Linked DNA regions of Homo sapiens: region 2 is linked to region 1. Evidence: promoter capture Hi-C in 16 types of primary human blood cells and fetal thymus (Javierre and others, 2016). All regions are on one chromosome and are shown on one strand. Each heading gives the region's core, a stretch centred on a gene start or on the middle of the fragment in contact. The rest is flanking DNA. Distances are from core to core; before and after follow the strand shown.

Region 1 (7,874 bases), core at 5,375-7,874:
AAGGATGCAGTGAGCTGAGATCATGCCACTGTACTCCAGCCTGGGCAAAGAGCAAGACCCTGTCTCAAAAAAGAAAAAAAAAAGGATATATTTATAGATCAGGAATATTGAAATGAATGTGCAAATGGAGATAAAACTGGTTTTGCCACATGGGATGATGGGCTGCCAACTGAATGCCCATCAATCGGACAGGATAGCACATAGCACTTACATATCTATAGACAAGAGTTGACTGCATCTCATAACTGTCTGCAATTTACAGAGTTGTGAAAAAGCTTCCATAGAATCTTAATAAGATAACCCAAAGGAATTCCCTCAACAGTTTCTCTGGGCCGGGCATGGTGGTGTGCACTTGTAATCCCAGTGCTTTGGAAGGCTGTGGTGTGAGGATCACTTCAGCCCAGGAATTCGAGACCAGCCTGGGCAACATAGAGAGGCCCCATCTCTACTAAAAGCAAGCAAACAAACAAACAAACAAAAGCCAGGCCTAGTGGCAGAAGCCTGTAGTCTCAGCTACTCGGGAGGCTCAGGTGGGAGGATCACTTGAGCCCAAGAGTTCAAGTTTACAGTGAGCTATGATTGTGCCACTGCACTCCAGCCTGGGCAATAGAGCCAGATCCTGTCTCTAAAAAAAGGGTTTCTCTGGATGATGCATTGGTTTTCACTAAGGCACCACTCTTCCCAACACTGCTCAGTCTTTCTCCACCCTTGACTCCAGCGTCTACCAATCATAGTAAAATATAGCTTTCACCACCCCACCAGCTTCTGCAAAGAGTGTCTATTGACTCCCACAACCACAATAAACATCTCTTCCTGCCTTTCAAGATTCCCTTTAATCCAGCATCACTGTCTTTGTATAACCACCTCTTATTCCAGGCAGGCCTGATCTCTCCACCCCAAGCCAAGCCAACGCCCTCCCACACATTCTCCTGACCCAGACGTCCCCTCAATCATCTATAGCATTCTCATTCTGCTGGCTCCTTTCAAGCTTTCTTTTTGTTTTTGCTTCTACTATCTGAAAGCCACACATAGCACCTATTCTGTTCTTTAATTATAGATGCTACCTGCACTAGACCTTGATCATGAATTCATTCAAACATATTATGAGCACCTTGCATTCGTTCCAGGGACAGTCTAAATGCTAGATCTAGGCACTGGCTATGCAGAGATGAAAAAGGCATGGCTCCCTAGATGAGTGGGGGGAAAAAGACAATGAGAATGAAACCACCTTTGCAAATACTATAACTAAGAATATTATGACAGCAGGCCGGGAGCGGTGGCTGACGCCTGTAATCCCAGCACGTTGGGAGGCCAAGGCAGGCGGATCACGAAGTCAGGAGATCGAGATCATCCTGGCTAACATGGTGAAACCCTGTCTCTACTAAAAATACAGAAAATTAGCCGGGCGTGGTGGCACATGCCTGTAGTCCAGCTACCTGGGGGAGGCTGAGGCAGGAGAAGCACTTGAATCTGGGAGGTGGAGGCTGCAGTGAGCCAAGATCGCGCCACTGCACTGCAGCCTGGGCGACAAGAGTGACACTCTATCTCAAAAAAAAAGAAAAAAAATAAAGAAAAATAAAATTATAACAGCAAAAGAGATCTGACATAACTGATTCCATCTTGCTGCCCTAGCTGATTCCATCTTGCTGCTGCTGCTGCTGCTGCTTTCTTTCTTTCTTTTTTTTTTTTTTTTTGAGATAGAGTCTCACTCTGTTGCCCAGGCTGGAGTGCAGCGGTGCAATCTCGGCTCACTGCAATCTCCGCCTCCCGGGTTCAGGCGAATTCTCCTGCCTCAGCTCCCCCAGTAGCTGGGATTACAGGCGTGCACCACCACAGCCCACTAATTTTTTTATTTTTTTTGTTTGTTTTGAGATGGAGTCTCGCTCTGTTGCCCAGGCTGGAGTGCAGTGGCGCAATCTCGGCTTACTGCAAGCTCCGCCTCCTGGGTTCATGTCATTGTCCTGCCTCAGCCTCCCCGAGTAGCTGGGACTACAGGCGCCTGCCACCACGCCCAGCTAATTTTTTTTTTGTACTTTTAGTAGAGACGGGGTTTCACCGTGTTAGCCAGGATAGTCTTGATCTTCTGACCTCGTGATCCACCTGCCTCGGCCTCCCAAAGTGCCGGGATTACAGGCGTGAGCCACTGCGCCTGGCAATTTTTGTATTTTTAGTACAGACAGGGTTTCACCATATTGAACCAGGCTGGTCTTGAACTCCTGACCTCAGGTGATCCGCCCGCCTTGGCCTCCCAAAGTGCTAGGATTACAGGCATCAGCCACGGCACCCAGCTCAGCGCTTCTCACTTTCTGACCCACTACCCACCAAATTATCCTTAAAAACTCTGAACCCCAAATTTTCATGGAGATTGACTTGAGTAATAATAAAACTGTGGTTTTCCATACAGCCAGCTCTGTGTGAATTAAACTCTTTTTCTGTTGCAAATTCCTTGTCTTGATAAATTGGCTCTGTTTAGGCAGCGGGCAAGGAGAACCCATTGAACAGTTGCAAGAATACAGGTGATTGGCACTTTGAGACAGGTCGCTTTGGGAGCAGAGGGAGGGCACATAACCCAGACAGGGAAGGTCAGCAAGTATTTCTTGGAAGAAGTGGCATTGGTCAAGCAAAGAAGGGAGCAGAAGGAACAGGAGCATATGCACATATAACTCTGTGAAACACTGCCTTTTCTTTTTTTATAACAATATTTTTACAATCACCATATCTCTTGCCTCTACTAGATAATAGAGGACAGCAGAATATAAAACTTTGACATAAAGATTTTTTTGAGCTAAAGGCACTTAAAATACAGCAGATGCAAGAAGGGTACTCTGGCCTCTCTTTACTTCCTGAAAGCAGGAGATCAGCTCTCATGTGAATGCTGCCCTCCCTGCACCAGAAAGAAAGGAACATTATCACCAAAGAGGGAGAGTCAAGGCCGAGAGAAATCTGTACAAACAACTCTTGTTAGACTAACCTTTATTTCCTTTAGTTTTCCCATATAAATATACTTTTTCAAAATTACTATTTTTGTTCAACCTAGTATATGAGCACTTAGGCCTAACCATTTTGGGGGGTCTCGATTTTCCTGTAAGGGCTTCCAAGTACGTGCAAAACTATTAAATAAAATTTATATGTGTGTGTGTGTGTGTGTGTGTGTGTGTATATATATATATATATATGATTATTATTATTTTTTGAGACAGGGTCTCATTCTGTTACCCAGGCTGGAGTGCACTGGCACAATCATGCCTCACTGAAGCCTCAATCTCCCAGGTTCAAGTGATCCTCCTACCTCAGTCTCCCGAGCAGCTGGCACTACAAGCATGCACCACCACATATGGCTGTTTTTTTTGTATTTTTTGTACAGACAGGGTTTTGCCATGTTGCCCAGGCTGGTCTCGAACTCCTGGGCTCAAGCGATCCACCTGCCTTGGCCTCCCAAAGAGCTGGGATTACAGGTGTGAGCCACTGTGCCCAGCCAATTAATATGTTTTTCTCGTTAATCTGTCTTATGTCAACTTAATTCTCAGGCCCAGCTGGAGACCCTAAGATGGTAGAGGTTAAGTTTTGCCCCCTCTACAATAATAAAATCCTTGAAGACAGGGACACTGTTTTAGATTCTTTTTTATCCCATGATTTCTAACAGAAAAACATCTTAAGCACCTTGTAAACTTAGGGTTTGAAGGATGACTAAATCTTTCATCCCAAAGTGATCCACAATCCTGATTATTTGTAGACTGTGAAATGTACTTTTCTTTTGTACCATTAGGCATGTGAAAATGTAAATGGTGTGGTCCTTGAAGCAAAGAGAAAAGTAAATGATACACCAGAGTCTCAGGCTGGACCCGCAAGTCAATAAAACAGGTAATAAATTCAGCTGAGCAGATACAGACAAGGGTAACCTACAGCTCTGAGGCTTGGATGCCTCTGAAGCTCAGAGACCCTCTACTCACATACCAAGGAGGGGACAGGTTTTCGCATTCCATTTTTTAGTTTCAGAAACTGCGGCCTGATCTATCACGTTGGAAGGAGGGAAGAGCTGTAAAGTGAATGTAAAGATTTCGCTGTCTTTGGAGCAAATATAGATAAAATTTGGTGAGTTTATTGAGTTTATGATGCAACTCCATTTTAACTATCTAGAGAAGGTGGAAGCCAGAGTGGACCTACCAGTCCAACCCACTCAGCCTTCAAGAGAGGAAGATCAAATCTCTCCTCTGGAGTGTCTAGCTCTTGGAGAGTGAAATAGACATTCTTTCTTTCCTGCAACTGAGCTCAAGGTGAAGACTTTGCTCACTGCAGCTGGTGTAAGCCTCCCCACACCCCTGCACCTCAGCTAAAATTGCAATCAGATCAACAGTGGTGTAATTTTTTTAAAAAGAGATGGGGTCTTGCTCTGTGACCTAAGCTGGAGTGTAGTAGTACAATTATGGCTCACTGCAGACTCAACCTCCCAGGCTCAAGCAAACCTCCTACCTCAGTCTCCCCATTAGCGGGACTACAGGCACACATCTGGCTAATTTTTTAACTTTTTGTAGAGATGGGTATCTCACTACCTTGCCCAGGGTGGTCTTGAACTCCTGGGCTGAGTCGATCCTCCCACCTCGGCCTCCCAAAGTCCTGGGATTATAAGCATGAGTCACTGCACCCAGCTGGCTGGTGTCATTATTAAGAACAATTTTTGTATCCCTCCTCGTGCTTACCCATATTCTCCGAGTTGCATTCAGCTGTGTACTTTTTTACAATGAGAAATTTAAAACCAGCCGGGCGCGGTGGTTCACGCCCGTAATCCCAGCAATTTGGGAGGCCAGGGCGGGTGGATCACTTGAGGTCAGTACTTCAAGACCCACCTGGCCAACATGGTGAAACTCCATCTCTACTGAAAATACAAAAATTAGCCAGGCGTGTTGGCGGGCGCCTGTAATCCCAACTACTTGGGAGGCTGAGGCAGGAGAATCGCTGGAACCCAGGGGTGGAGGTTGCAATAAGCTGAGATCACACCAGTGCACTCCAGCCTGGGTGACAGAGCAAGACTCCGTTAAAAAAAAAAAAGTAAAAAATAAGGAATTAAAAAAAACAAAACGCTTTACAGAAAATAAAAATATATAAAAATATTGAGCACTACTTGAAAACTTTCTATTGAAACCATCCCCACTGTGTTGACAAAAATTTCATGCCAAGTTCTAGGCAGAAATATAGTTATAATTAAGCATTAATCAGGCTGTACTTTGGCCCACTTCCTTGTTGCTAAAAGTCACCTAGCACTACATACTGACCATTTGCATTCCCATTGTTCCTATAGACAGGATCTCTGACATTAGAATCATAAGCTTTCTGTTTAAGGATCGCTTAAGATATTTTTCAGACCTTGAATTCCAGCTACCAGTTTGAAGATCCCCAGAGAGGAATGGGGTCAGCTTAAGAATACAGGTTCTTCAACGCCCTGTCCCATGACTTCACCCTGCACTCTTCAATCAACGATCTCCACACTATAGCCCTCTCCAAAACCCTTAAAAACCTTGACCCCAAATTCCTCAGGGAGATGGATTTGAGGTTTCCTCCCATCTCCTCCTTTGGCGACTCCACGATTACACCTCTTTCTCTGCTGCAACCCTGGTGTCTGGGCGTATTGACTTGCTATGTGCACGAGTCAACGAACCTAATAGTGTTACATCATTTTCAAAAACAGTATTTACACCGTTGCACCTGTGGAACAGATGAAAGGACACGAATAAAAATAACTCAGGCCAGGTGCGGTGGCTCACGCCTGTAATCCCAGCACTTAGCGAGGCCGAGGCAAGTGGATCACGAGGTCAGGACTTCGAGACCAGCCTGGACAACATGGTGAAACCTCGTCTCTACTAAAAATACAAAGAGTTGCCGGGCACGGTGGCTCACGCCTGTAAGTAATCCCAGCACTTTGGCAGGCTGAGGCGGGTGTATCACCAGAGGTCAGGAGTTCAAAGCCAGCCTGGCTAACATGGCCAAACACTGTCTCTACTAAAAATACAAAGATTAGCCAGGTGTGGTGGTGGGCGCCTGTAGTCCCAACTACTCGGGAGGCTGAGGCAGGAGAATCTGTTGAACCCGAAAGGCGGAGGTTGCAGTGAGCCGAGATTGCGCCACTGCACTCCAGCCAGGGCTACAAGAGCGAGACTCCGCCTCAAAAAAAAAATCCAAAAAAACAACAAAAAAACACAAAGATTAGCTGGGCGTGGTGGCGGGCGCCCCTAATCCCAGCTACTCGGGAGGACGAGGCAGGAGAATCGTTTCAACTAAGCAGCGGGAGGTTGCAGTGAGCCGAGATCGCTCCATTGCACTCCAACCTGGGTGACAGAGCGAGACTCCGACTCAAAAAAACCAAACAAACAAACGAAAACTCAGTGGGAGTGTCTTCACTATGCAGTCGTCTATTCAGCAACCTTGACAACAAGCTCTGGCACTCAGTTTCTATTTCCCGGGAGTTGCCCAGCGCTCCGCCCACGCCCGCTTGCAGAACTCGCCCCGCCTCCGCCCCACCCATCGTGTGACGTCACCATATCGGTCCCGCCCCTCTACTTCGCGTTGCTCCCGGGACTGTCAACCGCGTCCGGAAGCCCCGCCTTTTCGCCCCCGCCCGCATGCGCGGGCGCACACGAATGCGGGCGCACACGAATGCGGGCGCACACGAATGCGGGCGCACCCTTGAGTCCCCTCCACAACCGCGGTTTGATCCCAGCGGTCCAGTCGGCCGGTGCTGCCCATCCGTCCCGCCCCCTAGACGCACGTCCGCTCGCCCGGCGCCCGAGCCAGTCCGCGCGCACGCCGTCTGCGCCCCGAAAGCCCCGCCCCAAGGCGCGCCCGCCCACCGCTCTCCACGTGCTCGCTGGAGGGCGGTGCGAGGGGCCGAGCCGACAAGATGTTCTTGCTGCCTCTTCCGGCTGCGGGGCGAGTAGTCGTCCGACGTCTGGCCGTGAGACGTTTCGGGAGCCGGAGTCTCTCCACCGCAGACATGACGAAGGTGAGAGGCGGCGGCTCGCTCATGGTCCGCCGCTGGGGCCCTGCCCGTGGGCTACTGGGGCTGCGGGGCTGGTCGAAGCCGCGGTGTCCTGGGCGCCCAAGCCAAGTTGCAAAAATCAGTTTAAAAGAAAAATTCTCTCCTTGCGGGGATCGGCCTAGGCCGCTGAGGACCCCAGCGGTCGTATTGAGGGCGCGATTCCCCTGCTCGGGGCTAGGGGGTGATGGTTGTAGCCGCCCTTTACCCGGCTCCACTCGGCCGCGCACTTGCTCCAGTCGTCACCCGCGGTCCTGGCAGTAACCCGGGGAAAGACGCGGCGGTGGGGCTCCCATCCGAGCTTGGAGGAAGCCCGAGTTTGCCAAGGTGAAAGGGTTTCTGAGGTCCCAGAGTCACAGGGCTCCTTCCCCCGCGGAAGTGAAAGGTCAGGGAGTTAAGTAGCTTGGAAGGGTTTCTAGAGGAAAAGCATGCCTCTCTAGAGAAAAGGGCTTTGGGGAGAGACCCACGTTTCCCAGAATTAAGAGCATCTTCCAGAAGAAAAGTGAACTCCAAAAAATTACGAAGGTCGCTCTTCAGATGTGAAGGATCTGCAAAGGGAATGGCTCTCGGAACCAGCACAAGCTTGGGAGTCATGCCTAAGCACCAGAAAGAGATGACTGTCCCTGCAGAAGAACGTTCTAGGGGGAGCTTGAGCTCCAGTCTCCTGCAGGTATCTCAGTGGTGGAGGGACCAGTCGCCTGACCAGTGCTATCTCCAGTACTGTGCCACAGCCTACCCAGATAACAGTTGCTCAGTTGGCTCCATTGATTCCCGGGGAGTGAACAATCTTAGGGAAGTTAGAACCTGGCAGAGTTACCAATGCCAAGGAAGGCCGTTTTCTTTGGTG
Region 2 (7,874 bases), core at 3,511-6,010, 65 kb after region 1:
GGGCAGGAAAATGTCCCGTAGGTTCTCTTAATGCTCTGGCGCCATCTGCTGGCGGACATAGAGCGCGGCCAGTGGCCGGTACCTATGGCCTTTTTTTTCTTTTTTGGAGACGGAGTCTCCCTCTGTCGCCCAGGCTGCAGTGCAATGGCGCGGTCTCGGCTCTCTGCAACCTCCGCCTCCCTGGTTCAAGCGATTCTTGTGCCTCACAGCCTCCTGAGCAGCTGGTACTACAGGCGCGCGCCACCGTGCCAGGGAAATTTTTGTATTTTTAGAGGAGACGGGGTTTCACTATGTTGGCCAGGCTGGTCTGGAATTCCTGACCTCGTGATCCGCCCTCCTGGGCCTCCCAAAGTGCTGGGATTACAGGCGTGGGCCACCGCGCCCGGCCCCCACTGCTTTTTCAGCGTGAAGCCAGAGAAGAGTAACTGGGTGGTGAGGAGAGGAGGGCTGGGGGTGCAGATAATCTACTGACTGGAGTTGATAAGAGCCCAGGGCTTTGGGTGAGATGACCCGGCTCTAATACTGGCTCTTCTTTTTTCTAGATATGTGACCTTGGGCATCATTTCACCTGTGTGTGGGCCCCAGTTCCCTCTCCTTTAAAATGGGCATGAAACTGGGTGGTTGTGAGAATTCAATGTGATAATGGGAGCCTGGCATATAGTAAGTGCCCGTTAGACTGTAACTGGTAAAACCTTTCCTGCTGGCTTTTGGATGATTTGCTTTGTATTGGAGACTGGAGAAGTTTTTAAGAGCTCAGGCTAAAGGTCAGACAGGTGACATTTAAACTGAATTAATGCTGCCTGACCTTGGGCAAGTGGCTTCACCTGTTTGGACCTGGCTTGCTGCCATCACATCCTAAATGGTCTTGCTAGTCACCCCCTCCCCCTGTTTCTTCTCAGCAGTCAGAAGTGACCCTGTGAAAAGGCAAGTCAGGCCATGTCACTCCTGCCCAGTGCCTTGTGAAGGCTTCCCAGGGCACTCTGAACACATCCAAACTCCTTCCCATCAGGGCAGGAGTCCCTTCACCCAGCTCCTCTCCTCCCACTCACCCTCCCTCTCACTGATGCCTCAGGAGTGCCCTCACCTCCTTGTACTTAAACATCACCTCCTCACAGAGGCCTTGTTTTGCCCACCCTTGCCACTCCCAATCCTGTCTTCCAGCACTTTCACCGCCTGGTATGATGTTAACTGTTTGCTTTTTTTTTTTTTTTTTTTTTTTTTTTTTGAGACAGGGTCTATTTTTTTTGTTTTGTTTTGTTTTGTTTTGAGACAGAGTTTCTCTCTCTGTAGCCCAGGCTGGAGTGCAGGGGTGCAATCACAGATCACTGCAACCTCAACCTCCTGAGCTCAGACGATCCTCCCGCCTCAGCCTTCCAAGTAGCTGGGACTATAGGCACACACCACCATGCCCAGCAATTTTTTTTTTGTATTTTTTGTAGAGACGGAGTTTCACAATGTTGCCCAGGCTGGTCTCGAACTCCTGGGCTCAAGCAGTCCACCCTGGGCTCAAGCCTCAGCCATGCAAAGTGCTAGGATTACAGGCATGAGCCACCAAGCACAGCCTGTTTGCTTATTTCTTATCCGAATTCTCAGCAGAATTTGTGAGCCTATGAGAGCATTGTCTTTGTTTTGTTCCCTGCTATAACTCCAGAGCCTAAAGCAGTGCTGGGCATACAATGGGTCCTTAACAATTATTTGTTGAATGAATAAATGCAATATGTTTGCATGAGGGACCAGTGGGAATAACAATTCTAATTGAGCAGCCCTGATCCTTCTGATTTCTTCGAAGTGTGAGGGTTAAACCAATGCTCATCCTCACAAATTCCCACTGCCCTGCAGAAAAGGGGAACATAGCCTCATAAAATGAAGGGAGACTGATGAGCCCCTGGCTAGTTCCCCCCACCACACCCCGCCTCCTGCCCTGAACTTGCTCTGTTGCTGAAGCTGGAGTGCAGGGTCCTGATCTCCGTTCACTGAAAGCTCTGCCTCCTGGGCTCAAGTGATCCTCCTGCCTCAGCCTCCAGAGTAGCTGGGATTACAGGCGTGTGCCACCACACCTGTAATTTTGTATTTTCAGTAGAGATGGGGTTTCGCCATGTTGGCCAGGCTGGTCTCCATCTCCTGAGCTCAAGTGATCCACCTGCCTCAGCCTCCCAAAGTGCTGGATTCCAGGCATGAGCCACCGTGCCTGGCCAGAACCCAGGACTTTCAATTTGAAAACCAGGAAATCCCAGGGTCATTGGGGTGAGTTGGCCACCCTACTGAATGGTACATTTGCAAGACCCTCCCTGGGGCCCGAGGCCTCACTTACTCGGCTTCCAGGGCAGCCAGCCGGGCCTGGAGCTGGGCCTGGGCACTACTGAAATCTGCCACCATGGCCTGCATCTCCTTCCGGTGTTCCTGGCGCAGTGTCTCCACCTCCCTGGCCCGCTGGGCTTGCTGAGTCTCCTCCAGGAACCTGTGGTGGATGAAAGCACAGCCAGGCTTGCCCAGCTCCAGGGATGGCACCCCTTGGGCTCTGGGGTTTATTTCCCTCATCGCTGCCCAGTTTGGGAGATCTGGGTGGGGAGAAATTGTGATCTAAGGACACCTGTGGGAAGAAGAGCTGAAGTCTCTTGAGTTGTGGAGTCCAGGACAAACCCCCACTATGGGACCCCTTCTCAGCACCCTCCCATCTCAGAAGGAGAAACCTGAGCATGGGGACAGACTTCAGGTGGAAGTGATGGAGAGCAGCCCTGCAGGGGAGCCCCAGAAAACACACTCTTCACTTGGGACAGGCGGGGAGGCAAGAGGCTGAGATTCTCTATCAGTATGGCCTGAACGCTGGGACTCTGAGACCTGGGAGACCAGGTCTTCCCTAACAACTACACTGCAGTGGAAAGCCTCCCTGAACTTTTTTTTTTTTTTGAGACGGAGTCTTGCTCTTGTTGCTCAGGGTGGAGTGCAATGGCACGATCTCGGCTCACTGCAACCTTCACCTCCCGGGTTCAAGCAGTTCTCCTGCCTCAGCCTCCCAAGTGGCTGGGATTACAGGCGCCCAGCACCAGGCCCAGCCAATTTTTTGTATTTTTAGTAAAGACGGGGGGTTTCACCATGTTGGCCAGGCTAGTCTCGAACTCCTGACCTCGGGTGATCCATGCGCTTCAGCCTCCCAAAGTGCTGGGATTACACGCGTGAGCCACCACACCTGGCCACTCCCTGAATCTTTATCCCTCACCTTTATCAAAAGAAGTGGTTATGAAAATTAAATTGGGCTGGGTGCGGTGGCTCACATCTGTAATCCCAGCACTTTGGGAGGCCAAGGCGGGAGGATCACGAGGACAGGAGTTCGAGACCAGCCTGACCAACATGGTGAAACCTCGTCTCTACTAAAAATACAAAAAAAAAAAAAAAAAATTAGCTGGGCATGGTGGTGTCCGCCTGTAATCCCAGCTACTCAGGAGGCTGAGGCAGAAGAATCACTTGAACCTGGGAGGTGGAGGTTGCAGTGAGCCGAGATGGCACCACTGCACTCCAGCCTGGGCAAAAGAGCAAGACTGTCTCAAAAAAAAAAAAAAGAAAATAAATGAACAAGCACAGTCAAGGCTCAAAGCAATTTTGGGCCAACACAACAGGGTTCAGTGTACACAGCTGACAAATATTAAAAAAAAGGAATCCTCCAGACATTAAAATGACAAAAAAAATTATGAGCAATTTTATGATTGGCATTAGGACATTCAAAAACTTGGATGAAATAGACGAATTCTTTGAAAGATACAAACTGCTAAAGCTCACTTAAGAAATAGATAATATGAAATATCCTGTGTCTTTAAAGAAATTGAATTTGTATTAAAAGCTTTCCAACAAGAGGAAGAAAGGCTCTGAGTTCAGGATTGATGATAGGTTTTTCACTTCTACAATTAACCAAGCGTTTCATTCATGCTAGGGACATGCCAAGCCTCCTGCACACATTCCATTGCACTCTACAACAGCCCTGACAGGCCAGGTTTTTTGTTTTGTTTGTTTTGTTTTTTGAGACAGATTGTGGCTCTGCCGCCCAGGCTGAAGTGCAGTGGCCCGATCTCAACTCAGTGCAACCTCCACCTCCCAGGCTCAAGCAATCCCCCCTCACCAACCTCCCGAGTAGCCGGGACTGCAGGCATGCACCACCACGCTTGGCCAATTTTTCTATTTTTAGTAGAGACGGGGTTTCACTATGTTGCCCAGGCTGGTCTTGGACTCCTGACCTCAAGTGATGTGCCTGCCTCAGCCTCCCAAAGTACTGGTATTACAGGCGTGAGCTACCACGCCAGCCGAGGCTGGAGTCTTATCCCCATTTTACAGAGGACTCAGTCTGGGAGAGGTCAGCTAACTCACCCAACCTCACACAGCTAATTAAGAGCGCACAGCTAGTTAAGAAGACACCGCATGGTCTGAACTATTCCACTACACCGTCTCCGTAAGGTTGGATTTGATGACACTTTTGGTCCAATTCTCAGTCTCATAAATGCCCTGATTTGCAGGGAAACAAACAGGACTCCCTCTTTTTTTTTTTTTTTTTTTTTTTTTTTTTTTTTTTGAGACGGAGTCTTGCATTGTCGCCCAGGCTGGAGTGCAATGGCGCGATCTTGGCTCACTGCAACCTGGTCCTCCCGAGTTCACGCGATTTTCCTGCCTCAGCCTCCCGAATAACTGGGATTACAGGCACACACCACCACGCCCGGCCTTTTTTTTTTTTTTTTTTTTTTTTTTTTGTATTTTTAGTGGAGACAGGGTTTCATCATGTTGTCCAGGCTGGTCTCGAATTCCTGACCTCGTGATGCGCCCGCCTCTGCCAACCAAAGTGCTGGGATTACAGGCGTGAGCCACCGCGCCCAGCCAGACTCCCTCTTTTATTTCAAGGCACTTCCTCTGCGGTTTTGAGATCCAGAATTTCTGGAGCTCTGGGACTTTTCATGGGTCAGAGGAGTAACATCTGTGAAATGCTGGCGCATTCAGTGTCTAGTGTCTTGTGGGGCAGGATGCCGAGGCAGTGACCCATTTCAGGTCTCAGGCTCAGCCAGCCGCAGTAGGGGGAGGGGGGGTGGCGGGGTAGGGGGTGAGGGTGGCGCGGTGGCGGGGCGCGCCGGGTCACCCACCTGCGCTGGTCTCGGAGCTTCTGCGCCTCCTGCTGATGCTGCTCCACCTCCGCGCGCAGCCGCCGCACCGCGTCCTGGAGCTGCGCGTTCTCCTCCCAGAGCCCGCATCCCTCGCCGGAACCCTGCCCAGCAGCGCCCGGTGGGGAGCCGGCCTGGCCCGGGCCGCCCCGCTCCTGAGGAAGGCAACCAGGAGAGGTGTTTTCAGGAGGCGCAGGGGCAGACAAGGCAGAAAGGGCCAGAGATGTGCTGCGGCGAGATGGAGACCCACTGGCACCCCGCCCAGGCTGGAGCCTGTGGCAGGCTCCTGAGTTCCCTGCAGGGACTCCCATCTAGTCTCTTAAAAAATTTCCTCCTTTGGGAGTTGGCCAAATCTGGCCCTTAGAGTTTAATAAAACTGCTGAGCTAAGAATGGGTCTTGCATCCAAATGAACACCAACCACACTCCACACTCCACCTGCCAGGGTGCCCTCCATGCCTGCCTCAGTGAAGTCTTCCCTCCGTGAAGTTAAGTGTTCAGTGAAGTGATACTGCCTCAGTGAAGTCTTCCCTACCTCTCAGGGGGAACTGATAAGCTTTCTCTAATACCACCAAATCTTGCTAACTCTGGCTCTGTAAGGGGTGACACTGAAGAGAATATGTGTCCATGCTGGTTTCCTTGGCTAGATTGGGAGCTATTCCTCTCTTCATCTTTCCAACCCTGTAGCACCTAGCCTGGTGTATTCTATAGGTGCCACGTGAATGCTTGCTAAACAGAATTGTGCTAGAATGTCTGTAGTTCAGGTAGAAACACAAAAATTGCTGTCCAACAGCAAATGGAGTCAGATTTAATCTGTGATTAGTGAATGTTCCAGTTTTCAAATTCACTCAAACATGCCCGACCACTTGTGCATGTATTAGTTCACTGCACACAGTAATTGCACAGCTGTGCACGGGGAGAATCTGTGGCCCAGGCCCCATGTCTCTGCCTTCCTGCTCTGGGGTTGGCATGATGTGGGATGCCCGTGGGCACCCACTTGGCACTCTCACATGCATAGCCTGGAAGAGCAAGAGCAGGGGGGTTACTGCTCTGTGGGGACAATCCTTGACCAATGGAGGACAGAAACAGATGGAAAAATGCATTCCCCTCTTGGGTCTCTGGGTGGGAGAGATATGAGAATTAGATCCCAGTAGGACAGACTCCACTTAGCTCAGCGGTGGCCAGCTTGGGCCTGCAGCCTGGCATTGTGTCCCCTCCCCTTTCCTTTTTGACTCCTGCTGCCTGGGCTGTTCCTCTTTGCCGACACCCCTGCATCTCCTCTCTGTGTGGGGTATCACCTGAGACCACACTTTCCTTCTAGAGGGTTCAGGGCTTCCCTCCTATGGGGCAAAGGTGAGGGCTGGTGCATGGGTGGCCACGTATCGGCTCATGTACTCAGTGCTCCTTGGCTTCTATCCAGAGCCCTCAGGTGAACACTGACTCCCTCCATGGCCCAGTCCCCAGCTGTCTCCATCCCACATTTCCCGTCCCCTCCCATTGGTACCAGTGGCTCCCACCCATCTAAACACTTAATGGAACACGTTCTGTCTTCCCTCTGCTAGACCTAACCACTGGGCTAACCTGTGATTCATCATTTGTTAATATTTTTCACATAAACACAGAAATTGCCTTCCTATGCTCAGCAACAGCTAAATCTGGCACACATGATTCCCATGTCCCCCGGTCCTTCAGCAGGACTGGCCACCAATGAATCCTCACCACCCACAGGCACTGGTGGAGACCCTGCTGAGGGCTGGGAGTGGGGGTGGGGAGGCGATGAGGCAGGCAGACAGGTTATCCTCAAAAGACTCCTGATCCAGTCTAGGCAACAAGGACATCTATGAAATGGCATGTCCCCAACAGGACCGGGCGGTAGATCCTAGAGCCAGCTGAGCTGTCTTGACAACAAGTGCTCCAGGATCTCAGAGCCAGAGGGGGCCACTGTGTGCCAGGGAAGGCCCCCAGCATGAGATATGCTGGGCAGCATCTCAGGCAGGAGGAGTGGCACAGGCGAAGGCCAAAGGGAGGGTGCAGATGCCGGGTTTATGAGCCGCAGGGAATATGGCAGGACATACAGGTCATAATCAGTGGTGGAAGCTTTTCAATGCCAAGTTGAAGCATTTGGAGCTTTCTCCAATGGGAACCACCAAAGGCTTTATGAAAAGTGATGCTGGTCATCCTAATACCAAAGCCTGGCAGAGACACAACAAAAAAAGAGAACTTTAGACCAATATCCCTGATGAACATTGATGTAAAAATCCTCAATAAAAGACTGGCAAACCAAATCCAGCAGCACATCAAAAAGCTTATCCACCATGATCAAGTGGGCTTCATCCCTGGGATGCAAGGCTGGTTCAATATACACAAATCAATAAACATAATCCAGCATATAAACAGAACCAACGACAAAAACCACATGATTATCTCAATAGATGCAGAAAAGGCCTTTGACAAAATTCAACAGCCCTTCATGCTAAAAACTCTCAATAAATTAGGTATTGATGAGATGTATCTCAAAATAATAAGAGCTATTTATGACAAACCCACAGCCAATATCATATACTGAATGGGCAAAAACTGGAAGCATTCCCTTTGAAAACTGGGACAAGATAGGGATGCCCTCTCTCACCACTCCTATTCAACATAGTGTTGGAAGTTCTGGCCACGGTAATCAGGCAGGAGAAAGAAGGGGTATTCAATTAGGAAAAGAGGAAGTCAAATTGTCCCTGTTTGCAGACGAC

The links. The method cuts DNA at HindIII sites, captures the fragments that hold promoters and counts their contacts. A CHiCAGO score of 5 or more calls a contact.
Region 2: a contact is called between a fragment that was not itself captured here and the fragment with the promoter of LAP3 in region 1, in 2 of 17 cell types (naive CD4 T cells and total B cells). The highest score is 5.7, in naive CD4 T cells.

The regions. Positions count from the first base shown.
Region 1 is chr4:17,570,574-17,578,447 of GRCh38, forward strand. LAP3 (leucine aminopeptidase 3) reads left to right here and starts at 6,625. Exons shown (of 13, transcript NM_015907.3): 1 at 6,625-6,994. The coding sequence starts at 6,893. RefSeq lists enhancers at 6,273-6,632, 6,973-7,172 and a silencer at 6,693-6,902. The HindIII fragment of the contact is 2,285 bases long and covers 5,323-7,607 here.
Region 2 is chr4:17,636,939-17,644,812 of GRCh38, forward strand. It overlaps FAM184B (family with sequence similarity 184 member B), which reads right to left. Exons shown (of 18, transcript NM_015688.2): 13 at 5,118-5,290; 14 at 2,312-2,458. Among named protein-coding and RNA genes, the nearest start is that of MED28, 26 kb to the left of the region's middle. The HindIII fragment of the contact is 1,854 bases long and covers 3,834-5,687 here.